Linked DNA regions of Homo sapiens: region 1 is linked to region 2. Evidence: promoter capture Hi-C in 16 types of primary human blood cells and fetal thymus (Javierre and others, 2016). All regions are on one chromosome and are shown on one strand. The core of a region is centred on a gene start or on the middle of the fragment in contact, and the rest is flanking DNA. Distances in the headings are between cores, read along the strand shown. Region 1 has its middle 110 kb from the start of CHD1. Region 2 holds the start of GLRX (glutaredoxin).

Evidence for each region. The method cuts DNA at HindIII sites, captures the fragments that hold promoters and counts their contacts. A CHiCAGO score of 5 or more calls a contact.
Region 1: a fragment that was not itself captured here is called in contact with the fragment with the promoter of GLRX in region 2 in 1 of 17 cell types (non-activated CD4 T cells); the score reaches 6.1 in non-activated CD4 T cells.

What each region holds. Positions count from the first base shown.
Region 1 is chr5:99,030,918-99,038,025 of GRCh38, reverse strand. No RefSeq gene overlaps it. Among named protein-coding and RNA genes, the nearest start is that of CHD1, 110 kb to the right of the region's middle. RefSeq lists enhancers at 1-254, 255-919, 4,543-4,602. The HindIII fragment of the contact is 1,968 bases long and covers 1,478-3,445 here.
Region 2 is chr5:95,820,685-95,827,105 of GRCh38, reverse strand. It overlaps GLRX (glutaredoxin), which reads left to right and starts at 4,380. Exons shown (of 3, transcript NM_001118890.2): 1 at 4,380-4,650. The coding sequence starts at 4,444. RefSeq lists enhancers at 3,132-3,632, 3,863-3,952, 5,869-6,008. The HindIII fragment of the contact is 7,969 bases long and covers 1,292-6,421 here.

The sequences.
Region 1 (7,108 bases), core at 1,212-3,711, 3.2 Mb before region 2:
TTGCTGAGTTGCGGTGGGCTCCACCCAGTTCCAACTTCCTGGATGCTTTGTTTACACTGTGAGGGTAAAACCGCCTACTCAAGCCTCAGCAATGGCAGATGCCCCTCCCCACACCAAGCTCAAGTGTCCCAGGTCGACCTCAGACTGCTAGGTTGGCAGCGAGAATTTCAGTCCATGTTAGCTTGCTGGGCTGTGTTGGGGTGGGACCCACCGAGCCAGACCACTTGGCTCCCTGGCTTCGGCTCCCTTTCCAGGAGAGTGAATGGTTCTGTCTCGCTGGTGTTCTAGGTGCCACTGGGGTATGGAATAAAAAACTCCTGCAGCTAGCTTGGTATCTCCCAAATGGCCGTGCAGTTTTGTGCTTGAAACCCAGGGCCCTGATGGCATAGACACTGGAGGGAATCTCCTGGTCTGTGGTTTGCAAAGACCATGAGAAAAGTGCAGTATCTGGGCTGGGGTACACTGTTCCTCAGGCACAGTCCTTTACGGATTCCCTTGGGTAGGGGAGAGAATTCCCAGACCCCTTGCGCTTCCTGGGTGAAGCAACGCCCCACCTTGCTTCAGCTCACCCTCCGTGGGCTGCACACACTGTCCAACCAGTCCCAATGAGTTGAACCAGGTACCTCAGTCCAAAATGCAGAAATCACCCACCTTCTGTGTCGATCTTGCTGGGAGCTGCAGACCAGATCTGTTCCTGTTTGGCCCTCTTGCCCAGGAGGCTGATAACCCAAGAGATTCTTTCCTGAGTCCTCTTCACTCACAAATTGTAAAGAATTGTATACCTACATGATAGGTTTACAAACATACCTGTCTTTTTTTTCTAATTAGTAGATAATTATCTTATTCACTCTATTCCTTATCACATATTCACATTTTATTCACATATTCATTCCATTCTTTATCAGTTCAGTACTTCATTTTCACCAAATAGTTTTTGGCTTTCCATAGAAAAGTTAAGTTTTCGAGGACTCAAATATTTCTTTTTATTTTGTCATGTGTGTGCAAAGTGTGTGTGCATGTATGTGTATGTGCACACTACTTCAAAGTAGATTGAGGAAGAGAGTATGTATATGCTTTTTATCATAATATTTTAATTATAAAATTTATATACTTCCACCTGGAACTATAAAAATCCTGGAAGAAAACCTAAGGAAAACTCTTCTGGACATTGGTCTACTCAAAGAATTCATGATTAAGACCTCAAAAGTGCAAGCAACAAAAACAAAAATAAACAAATGGGACTTAATTAAACTCAAAGGCTTCTGCACAGCAAAAGAAACAATCAATAGAGTGAACAGACAACCTGTAGGATAGGAGAAAATATTTGCAAACTATATGTCTGAAAGAGGGCTAATATCCAGAATTTACAAGGAGCTCAAACAGCTCAACAACAACAATAACAAAACAACCCCATTAAAAAGTGGGCAAAGGACATGAACAGACATTTCTCAAAAGATATACACATGGCCAACAAGCTTATTGTTAAAATGCTTAATATTACTTATCATCAAAAAAATGCAAATTAAAACTACAATGAGATATCATCTTACACAAGCCAGGATGGCTATTATAAAAAGTCAAAAAACAACAGATGTGGGTGAGGGTGTGGAGAAAAGGGAATGCTTATACACTGTTGATGAGAGTGTAAATAAGTACAACCTCTCTGGAAAATAGCATGGAAATTTCTCAAAGAACTAAAAGTTGAATTACCATTTGATCCAGCAATCCCACTACCGGGTATCTACCCAAAGAAAAAGAAATCTTTATCTTGAAAAGATATCTGTACTCATGTTTATTGCAGCATGGTTCACAGTAACAAAGACTTAGAATCAACCTAAGTATCTGTCAATGGATGAGTAGAGAAACTGTGGTATATGTACATACAATGAATGACTAGTCAACCATAAAAAAGAATGAAATCATCTTTTTCAGTAGCATGGATAGAACTGGAGGCCATTATATTAAGTGAAATAACTCAGAAACAGAAAGTCAAATACTACATGTTCTCACTTACAAATGGTAGCAATGTAACATGTACACATGGACATAGAGTGTGGAGTAAGAGACACTGGAGACTCAGAAGGATGGGAAGGTGGGAGGGGAGTGAGGGATGAAAAGTGGCTTAATAGGTGCGATGTACATTATTCAGAAGATGGTCACACTAAAAGCCCCAGACTTCACCATTATCCAAAATATCCATGTAACAAAACTGCACTTGTGCCCTTAAATTTATACAAATAAAAAAAGTTTTAGATGTACATACTTCTGATAGAAAGTAGATACAAAATCACCCATTATTTCATAATCAAAGAGTAATAAAATTACAATGTATGTCTTCTCAATATGTTTTTATATATGCATTTTTAACTTAATTTGTTTTAAAATTTTTACCAAAAAAGTCATATTATATAAATTTTAGCCTATTTTTCCCTTAGTAGTACATTATAATATTTTCACATATCAAAAAATATTATTCTATAATATGATTTTAAAGGAATCATAGTAATAATGGTGTTTTTAAGTAATTGAACAATATTCATCTTATGAGTAACTCCTTAGAGATAAAGCAACAGAAAGAATCCATAACAGCAAAAAGTGTAGTGAGCTTTTTATTTGTTTTTACATATCAAAGTAATTTTTGCCAAATGCCTACTGTTTGTCTTTTATGTACTGGGAAAACAAAGATAAGTTTTTAGAGCAGTTATAAGATAGGTAAGTTAGTCAAATATTATGTGATGGGTACTAAGACAGAGATAGTCCTACGCGGTACAGGAACACAGAGAAGAGGCCTCTAAGTAAGAATGAGAGTCACCTGTAAAGTGACACTAACTAAACTATTGAAGGACAAGGGGATTGGGAATTGCAGAACAAACAGCATAAGTAAAAGGACTGCCTAGAAACAGTCAATCATTAATTCACAAACTGGCTTGATCATAAAAATCAGTAGAGACTGCCAGGCACAGTGGCTCACGCCTGTAATCCTTGCACTTTGGGAGGCCGAGGCGGGTGGATCACCTGAGGTCAGGAGTTTGATACCAGCCTGGCCAACATGATGAAACTCTGTCTCTACTAAAAATACAAAAAATTAGCCGGGCGTGGTGGCGGGCACTTGTAATCCCAGCTACTCAGGAGGCTGAGACAGGAGAATCACTTGAACCCAGGAGGTGGAGGTTGCAGTGAGCTGAGATCACGCCCCTGCACTCCAGCCTGGGCAACAAGAGCAAAACTCTGTCTCAAAAAAAAAAAAAAAAATCAGTAGAGACATAAGCCCCACTCCTGGAGATTCCAATTTAATATGTTTAGGGTCAGGCCAAGAATCTGCATGTTTAATATGTCCCCAGAAATTCTTACATTCAGTCAAGGTTAAAAAACAATTCTAGTCCCTCCAACTGGAAACCTGCTTGTTTTACAATATAGCAGTAAGGAAGTAGCCATCCCTGAAGCTTGGAAAGTGGCCAAAGACAGAATGTGTGGGTTAAGCCTTGAAGTTTATCCTGAAAGATAAAGGACTGAATCTGAGTTTGCAGAGCAGATTAGCATTTTAGAAGGATCACTCTGTAAGAAACGGAGTATGATGTGTAAGGAAACCTTTTGAGGAGGCTAATGTAGCAATTTAGGTGAGAAGTCATTAAGACCTTAATTTAAAAAGTGGTTATGAGTTTAGGAAAGAGGAGAACAAGAGATACCAAGGAATTAAAAGCCACAGGGATTAGGGATTGATTGAGTATAAGTGAGAGTGACCTAGGAAGACTCCCAGGGAAGTGGATTGGGTGACTGGATAAGAGATATGCCATTTATGAAAATGTGGCATTCAAGTAAAGCGCAGGTTTGAAATACATAAGTTCACTTTTAGATATACTGAATTTTATTGGAAATTCAATCGTAGGTTCCATCGCAAACTCAAAACGAAGATTTGGCAGGAGGAAGTTTGTAATATAACAGTGATCGAAGTTGAACCCATGAGGAAGATAACACTTACTGTTTAAGCAGAAAAAAAGGGAACCTACAATGGAGACTAAAAAGAATTATCTTTTTTCTTTTTAAGGAAAGAATAATGCCACAGAAAACAAAGGAGAAGGACTCCAGAAGGAGAACTGCTACCGATAAATCAAACAAAATAAGGACAAAGCAAAGTTCCCTGAACTGTGCCTTATGGAATTCAATGGTGCAGGTATCAGGAGCATCTCCTCTGCACATGTTTCTGGTGGGCTTGGCCAATCAAATGTTTCCTTCCTAGGAGCTAAATCTTAAGTGGTGACACAAGGAGGAAAGGTAGTTGAACCTTAGTAAACATACATGATTATGCATGTCCACGGTTTCATTTCAGTGGTCCTGTACTTTCTGCCCTCAGGAAGCTTGACTGTTTAGTATTTTCTTCTGTTCTGCATTATACCAGTATATTTCCAATGAATATCATTTTTTCCATAAGTTGTTCTCAATTTGTTTCTTTGGCTTATAATTAGAGACCCAAAACTGCCAAGGTAATTTTACTTTTGCTTTCATTTTCAATAAGACAAACCACTGTTCTGTTTATTTTCTGAAGTAAAACAGGAAAGAGGGCGATGATTGATATAATAAAGTCATTGAGTACACAGAAGAGGATGGAATCCAATCTACAGGTTGAGAAATGAGCCTCGAGTTAGATGGGCACCTTTTCCAACAGGAAGGAGAAGTAAAAATGCCAATAAATAAGCGAATAAGTAAGAGGGAGAGGAAGGTGCCGTTTTCACTTTCTGCCCTTGCCTTTTCACAATGAAAAGGACAGAATCATCATTTGCTGAGTGTAAGAAGAGTTGGTGGTTTTGACAGTAAGGGAAGTAAATGTTTGGAATACCCACTGTCAGTTGATCAGAAGCACCTTCACCATAACTGAGGACTCAGCCTTGGTCAGAAAGCAACAACATACAGTGACATCAATTGGTATGGCTGTGTGATTTTTCTCCAAGAACTCTCAGCTGCTCAGTTCCAGAGTCAGAGAAACAGGATGGCTGGATTAAGAGTTGAAAGTAATATTGAAAGCATAATTTAAGTAGTGGACACCAGTGTGTGGAGCTGAACAGGGAAAATGGGAAGACAGAAGGAGACTAATTGATTAGGAGAAAATGGAGGGCTCAAAGCATATGGGGTCATGAGGTCAAAGGGCAGGCATAGTTCATATAAGGACCAGAAAGTTACCAAAAACAAATGGTGAGGAAAAGCAGATGTCTTGTCTAAACATGAAGCCTGTATCTGAATCTCCCTATGGATGGAGGGTTCACGTTTATCTACCTTCAGACTGCTCTACTCGGCTATCAGTCAGTCTTTCTTAGGATTCCTAATTTGTTTTTCTGACTTTCGCCCACAAGCTGGATGACCACTTGGTGGAGCTCCTGCAAAGAGAATGTCAGCCCATTGGTTAACAAGATACCCTGAAAAACGAGATTCCATAAAATTATGCAGTTCACTGTAGCCTAGTCCAGTAAATGGTGGACTGATTGAGAAATACTTTTTTAAAAAAATGTTGTGAGCTACCCTTTCCCTATTGCTTCCAACAGAATGACAGCTGATTCTGGTACTTGGAGCAACCAAAATTTCGGAAGGTTCTTTGATCTTAATGCAGCAATGAGTGTTCCCTCTACTGCTAGCCTAAGCCTAATCTAGTCCTTCATCAGTTGTAGAAATATAATATCTTTAAGAAAGGATAGGAAAAAGAGTCCATAATTAAGACACTGTTCCTTTAGGCCTAGCCTATTAATAATACCTTTAATCTACTTTACCTCGCGGGTTTAAAAATAATTCTGCCTGTTGCTTAGTGCCACCCATACTGCTGATGATGAACAATGATCTGTTGCATAAATTGCCACCTACCTTTTATTCTGTAGCAGCCATTCATTACAACTCTAAGGCCAGTAATTACCAGTGATGAAAGTGGCATTATCTGCCGTGACTTTCTGTTTGGTTTTACTTTGAAAGTGCCTTAGCTGGTTACCTTACTTGGATAGTGTAGACCGTTCGAGTGCCATAGACAACTTATTCTCCTATCCCTGGCATAGTCCCCCAAACAGTGCCTTCATTACTGCAAGGAGAGAGTGTGGCTTAATTACACTATATTCATCTCTATGACAAGCCAGACAACTCAAACCATAAGGTTTCATTACATGGTTCTTATAGTTTCATCACGGTTTATGACCAAGAGCACATACTTTCTAATGCAGTGTGAGAAAATCAAGATGTAGTTAGATTAATTAATTTGCAGCAAAATACTATCTGGAACATCAGGAAGACTGGCAGGTGCTTCCAGTTCAACTCCATGTCATAGATCAAATTATAAAATTTCAATAAGCAGTTTCTCTTCTTTTAATTGACAGATATAATGGTTACTTTTAGCTGTCATAGAATTGAATAAAAATCTGAGATAATAAGATAATAGGATGTTGACATGTTTTTAGGTGGCAAAAATAAACCTTAATATTGTGTCATCAATTTCTTCTTCTCTGCACCTATAATTATGCAGGCTGTGTGGATTTCATTCTTTTCATACTGATAGTGTTATACTATATTTGGTCACATTCCCCCTAAGATGATGAGGCTAGATTATAGATCTGGAGCAAACTTTTGCCCTTGGATTGTTGACAGGCACTGCAACTTAATTAAGTTGACATTTCTAGCATAAATTCCCAGAGATAGAAGACACCTCAGAGAATCTTTTATCTAACCTTCTGCCCACTATAGGAAATCTCTCCACAGCACACCCAACAAGTTGCTTTTCCAGTCTTCCTTGATTTCATCAGCATCCCAAATTATTCACTGGGTGTTTACTCATGGTTCTGCTTTCTTCTAGGAAACATACATACACAGAGTCAAATTTTCTACTATCAGAGAGGACAAAAGGGAAATGAGTTGTCTGACAGAGAGAAATGGGCAAGGACAAAGGGAAAATCATTAGTGGAAAGAAAAAGTAGCATTAAAGGGCAGTATGATGAGAAACAGGAAGAAGAGATGTATGCAGTTTAAGCAGAGCAATCACTTTCACTAAGCCCTTTTCATTCTCTTGCAATACTCTCAGGAATTACAGATTGGAAGGCACTGCACTGGTGTGGAAGTAGGCTGAGAAGAAACATGGGTTGGA
Region 2 (6,421 bases), core at 3,131-5,630:
CTTCCCAGTGCACAGGTGGGCATTATTCAGAAAGAATCAGTCAGGAAAAGGTGGGCCTCATCCAGGACCAGCAGTCCAATTTTTGTCTTTGTTTCTGGTATTTTTTGAGACAGAATTTTGCCCTTGTTGCCCAGGCTGGAGTGCAATGGCACGATCTTGGCTCACTGCAACCTTCGCCTCCTGGGTTCAAGTGATTCTCCTGCCTCAGCCTCCCAAGTAGCTGGGATTACAGGCGCCTGTCACCATGCCCAGCTAATTTTTTTTGTATTTTTAGTAGAGATAGGGTTTCACCATGTTGGCCAGGCTGGTCTTGAACTGCTGACCTCAGGTGATCCACCTGCCTTGGCCTCCCAAAGTACTAGGACAGCAGTCCAGTTTTTCAGCCTTCAGGTTGTTTTAGACTTGGAGGCAGGGTTTCACCAGGGACCCTTGGCTGCCTCCTGTCTCTAAAATGTTGGTGGGGAGGCTGGGATACGATGAACAAGGTAGGGAGGACCCATCACACAGGGCCACATCCCCACAGGGAAATCTGGATTTTGTCCTGGGGAAACATGGACTAGTTTTTTGTTTGTTTGTTTGTTTGTTTGTTTTTTGAGTTGGAGTCTTGCTCTGTCACCCAGGCTGGAGTGCAGTGGCACAATCTCCATTCACTGCAACCTCTGCCTCCCGGGTTCAAGAGAGTCTCCTGTTTCAGCCTCCCAAAGAGCTGGGACTACAGGCACACGCCACCACGCCCAGCTAATTTTTAAATTTTTAGTAGAGATGGGGTTTCACCATATTGGCCAGGCTGGTCTCAAACTCCTGACCTCATGATCTGCTCGCCTCAGCCTCCCAAAGTGCTGGGATTACAGGCATGAGCCACCACGCCCAGCCCATGGACTAGTTTTAAGAGGGAACAAGATAGGTTCTGTATTTTTAAAGATTGCCCCAGCAGCAGTGTGGAGTAGGCAGTGAGGCGAGGGTGGAGGTGCTACAAGAGGGAGTGAAGAACTAATGAGGGCTAGAGCAGCAGGAGCAGTCAGGTGTTCAGACCAGGGAGGCACTCAGGAGGCAAACTTGGTAGGGTTTGGCCACTATGCATAAGTGAAAGCAGAGGCCAGCACAGATGCCTGCCAGGTTTCCGCCCTGGCCGAAAAGGTACATGAAGGTGCATGCAGGCTCAATGAGCAGGTATGGAGGAAAGAGGGTGGCTTCAGGGGAGATTCAGTTTTGGCTGCCTAGAGGCTGAGAGGCCTAAGGAATCCCCAGGTGGGTCTTTTCAGTAGGCAATGAGATAGCCTTCCCTGAAGCTTAGGAGAGAGGTCCAGATAAGGAAAAACGTGATGCTCATCAGTAAAAAGCTGACAGCTGGAGTCATGTGTGGAGCTACGACCTCTCAAGGAGTGGGTGTGTACACAATGAGAAGATCAAGCCCCAAGATAGACCATATGTGTAGGCAAAATTCTTAACAAAGACACTGAGACAATATCCAATAGAAAGAGCAAAAAGATCATGCTGCAATGGGCAGTGGGAAGAGAACTTCCAGAGGCCTGCAGTGATCTACAAGGTCAAACCCTGCACAGTGGGTAAGGAAAAACCCTGAAGAATGTTCGTTTGTGGCCACATTTTTTGCAGCCCTCATCAGCCTGTGAGTACAAATGAAGTCACATTGGCCGGGCACGGTGGCTCACGCCTATAATCCCAGCACTTTGGGAGGCTGAGGTGGGCAGATCACGAGGTCAGGAGATCGAGACCATCCTGGCTAACACGGTGAAACCCCGTCTCTACTAAAAATACAAAAAATTAGCCGGGTATGGTGGCGGGTGCCTGTAGTCTCAGCTACTCAGGAGGCTGAGGCAGGAGAATGGTGTGAACCCGGGAGGCGGAGCTTGCAGTGAGCAGAGATCGTGCCACTGCACTCCAGCCTGGGCAACAGAGTGAGACTCCGTCTCAAAAAAAAAAAAAAAAAAAAAAAGAGTAACCACACATATTTCACTAGCTTGTTGCCAACCATCTGTAAAGCAGGACTGATTCTCCCCTAAAAAATGCCCTCACTTCCCACCCTCCAAGGTGTATTTTCTGAGAGTGCCTGGGAGTGTCTCACACAAGCCAAAGGAGAGTCCACACGTGTTAGTCCACACGCACACCCTCTTTCCATCCACAGCACTTGACGCATCTGCAGTCCCCATGGCGGCTTTCCATTGAGATGCCCTAAGGTCCATGCTGGGTTTCAGCTCCTGCTGTACAATGCAGCAGAGGCTTCTATGCTTGTCATTTTTCACTGAGTTGAAGCCACAGCATTTTCTGAGAAATGGAGAGGACACCCGTTCTTTGCCATCTCTTTGTCTCCCATTTTCCACATGGTGCCTCACAAAAAAATTGCCTTTAGCTTGTGCCTTATGGCCATCTGTCCTAAGGCTTCAGACACCAGGCAGTCCCCGGGACTGAGTGAGAGGCAGACAATAGTCTCCCTGGATCCCAGCCTCTTGGGGCAGGTGACTAATTTGCAAAAGGTCAGGATACCTAGCTAAATGGTCATTTGGTGACATAGAGGCCATGATTAGTGTCTGCCAACAATTCAGCAGAATGGTTGACAAGGTCAGATAACAACAAAATGAGAGAATGGAGGTGAGAAAGGTACAGACAGTAAATTTCATGAAAGGGCAGAGGCAGGAAAGCAGGAAATGGGGAGTGGTGGTGGTGGTGGTGGCTTTTAACTTGAACACAGTGGCAGGCTGAGGCACCAGGAAGGGAGGAGCCAACAACAGACCGGAGAAGAGAAAGGCTCTGAGTGAGTAGCAGGTGCAAGTCGTGTGGATAAACCTCAGGCTGAGGGAACTTAAGGCAACAGCCTGAGGGCCCTGAAACAGACCCTGGACCTCCTGGCAGGGGCCTCTGGAAGGAGCCTGGCCACAGGGTTCTGAGGTAAAAGAATGAAAAAAGAGAGGAGGCTCAGACTCTGTGGCAGAGCCTACTTTGGAGGGAAGTGGGAAGTGGGAAGTCCGGAGCCCTGACCACGTGAGGGGCCTCCCAGCCCTGCCACATCCTTTTCTCTGGACAGAGCTGTCACTTAGCTCCCCCTCCGTGACTCAGAATCTGGCTTTCTCATTTTGCCATTTTAATTCTAGTAACGATGAGAGTCACAGTAAAAAGCTGCTTCTGGGAGTGGATTTTCTTCCCTTCCCTTGATCGCAGTATGCTTGGGATTCCTCTTACGTGGCAGTCGTGGTGTCCAGCTCTGGCCTTGGCCCCGCCTCTTTGAAGATACTCTGGTTTCACCATAAAACTTCCTGGGGAAAGGATGATTCACGTTTAAAGGACATAGTTTTTCCTTGATTTGTTTATTTAAGCTACCATACACTAGAGGGGGCCGGAACTAGACCCAGGAGTAGAGGACTTTGCTTTGCGGGATAAGGAGAATGGGCACCCTGGGGAAGAGCGAAAGATTTCCTACTGTTACAACCCGTGTCTTATAACACTTGAAGTGAATGTGGTGTCTGAGTTACAACACTACTTCCCCTCACAAACAGTTAAAAGCAGAGGGTCACAAACATAGGCTCAACCAGAAAAAAAGATTCTCATTTCATCTGTAGTTTTGTATCAAGGATTGTGTTGGAATTTGCCTCCATATTAAACTGCTGTTCAAGGGTTACCAACTCAAATGGTTATGGGGTGAAGCCGGTGTCTCAGGCATGGGCCTGTCGTTGGGACCTGTGGCAAACCAAAGCCACTACTTGCCCTATACAAAGGGGGCAACAGCTGTCAGCCCCAGCAGCTTCCACTAAAAGGTGCAAGCTCTGTATTGCCCGACCTGACTTTTCAGAGAGAAGTTTTAAGTCCGAATTGTTTTGTGAGACCTCCAGATTTTTAAATACTGAGAATGAATTCCATTAAAAAGATCACAACAACAAACACCCACCATACAGTCCAAGCAAAATGCTGTGAGAGCAACCTTCATGAGGAGTGCAAAGTCACAGTTTCAATTTCACTTCTTCTAAAGAGATTTCCAAGTGTTCTGTTTCTTAAGTGATTCTGTTTGCATTTTAAAATACAACTGTATCTCCTAGAGGGAAAACAAGAATTTGCTCTAAGAAGTCACTGCCTCCTCAGCCCCTTTGTGAGTAAGCACTTTATGCTTCCCCAGAGGTGACTAAACTCTGATCATTGCCAATGGGCAGGCACTCCCCAAATGTCCAAGGACAACAAAGATACCCAGAGTGTCTTTCATAGCTACCAATGATTAAATAGCAAGTATTGCATTCCTGGGCATTGCTAACTAGTGAAGTATACCAGATGGAAATGTCTTCGAAGCTGTCCCTTTAAAACTCGAGCAAGCTACCAGGCAAACTCCGCCTCCAGGGAGGTTCCTTATTAAATAGGAGCCAACTGGCTGGGTCGGGGCTCAATACCCCAAGCAATACCTGCAACTGAGGATTCTTCCCGGGGAGACCGCAGCCCATCGGCATGGCTCAAGAGTTTGTGAACTGCAAAATCCAGCCTGGGAAGGTGGTTGTGTTCATCAAGCCCACCTGCCCGTACTGCAGGAGGGCCCAAGAGATCCTCAGTCAATTGCCCATCAAACAAGGGCTTCTGGAATTTGTCGATATCACAGCCACCAACCACACTAACGAGATTCAAGATTATTTGCAACAGCTCACGGGAGCAAGAACGGTGAGTTTCATTTTAAACGGCTAGGGAAAGGCTCCCGGATTGCCTTTTCTTGTCAGAGCTGTGCCTTTCTTTAGGATAAGGCTGCGGCTCCGTACTTCAAGGCGTCCAGAGGGCTGTGCGGGGCGGGGGGTGTGGGGGAGGGCGCCTTAGAGAGGATCTCGGTCACTTGAATGAGCGGCGGCACTGCAGCCAAAGGTCTTCACGGGGCAGAAGAGGGAGTACAGCTGATGTCTGCTGTGCGGCAGGGTAAGTGGGACCAGCAGCTTGCCGGTGAGTCCCTGGGGAATTATCTAGAGTCTTTGTTTTAAGCACTGCCAGGAAATGACAGTTTTCAGTTGGCAGGGCTGGAGGTGGAAGCTGGGGTGGAGGGCCGGGTGTGATGTGTTTGTTATTTAACATGAGATTCATGTTCTTCATTCTTTTCTCTAGGCTTTCTTTTTCTAATTTGCTCATTCTTCCTTATCTAATTCCTCCCACTGGAAAAATCTAATGTACCGTTATCTGCCCCTTGTTCTAAATTAATTATGGATGTTTCCAGGCCCCACATTGTAGGGAATCATAGCCTGGAGTTCTGGCCTGGCTCTTATAATGGCTGGCTGTGTGATCCTGGGCAAGTCACCACCCCAGTAGTCCTCAAAGATCCCAGCTGCAAGACCAGATTAGGTGACCTCAGAGTCCCATTTGCTACGAATAGACTGTGGGACCCTCTAAAAATTGCTCTCCTCCATCCGAAAGACTTCCCTCTCTTCAGCATCCTTGGCTTTGCGTCCTGGGCTTCAGGAGGGATGCCAGCCACATCACCTGTATCAGTTCTGCTGTGAGGTGGGATGAGAAATGTCCCACCAGCTCAGCTAAGTTCTCTTTTACGATGCACGAATTCTACAGCACAGTGTTAGGCCAAGCACATATCCTATTTCAGTTTTAGTTTGACTTACAAGGTTGTCTCTGGGTTCTGAGTATAAAGCATTGGAGGTTGTTTCTCTCCCCTTCTCTCTAATAAGAAGTCAGCATTTTGGTGCAGAAAGGGGGCTTAGTGTGTTATCCTACTGCTGTGTGCTGAGGTCCTGGAGTATACACAATGACGAGAGAAGCTCTTGCTGCCTAGTGGGACCACCAGCTGCATAGGATGCCCAGGCCCTGAGAGGTGTAAAGGGCAGTGCAAACACTACTACGGGCCCCACTGTGGCTGCCACCCTGAGGACCTTTTAGCCATTGGTTCCCAAACTTTGCTGCACATTAGGATCACCTAGAGAGCTTTTAAAACAATCCTTATGCCCAAATTATGCCCCTCAATAACTAAATCACAATGTCAGAGGTGGGAGCCAAGCATTAGTTTTGTTTGTTCGTTTGTTTTGAGACAGTTTCATTCTTGTCACCCAGGCTGGAGTGCAATGGTGCAATCTTGGCTCACTGCAACCTCTGCCTCCTGGGTTCTCCTCAACCTCCCAAGTAGCTGGGATTACAGGCGCCCACCACCATGCCCAGCTAATTTTTGTATTTTTAGTAGAGACGGGGTTTCACCATGTTGGCCAGGCTGGTGTCGAACTCCTGACCTCAGGCGATCCACCTACCTCGGCCTCCCAAAGTGCTGGGATTAAACGGGTGAGCCACCACACCTGGGATTTTTATTTGGAAAAATCCCTTGGGGATTCCAATGTGCAACACAATTGGGATTATTGTTCTCAGCCCAACAGCATCTATTTTCCAGGAGGTAAAGCAAACCTCTTCATGTGTTCATTTAACAATTGCTTTTTTTTTTTTTTTGAGATGG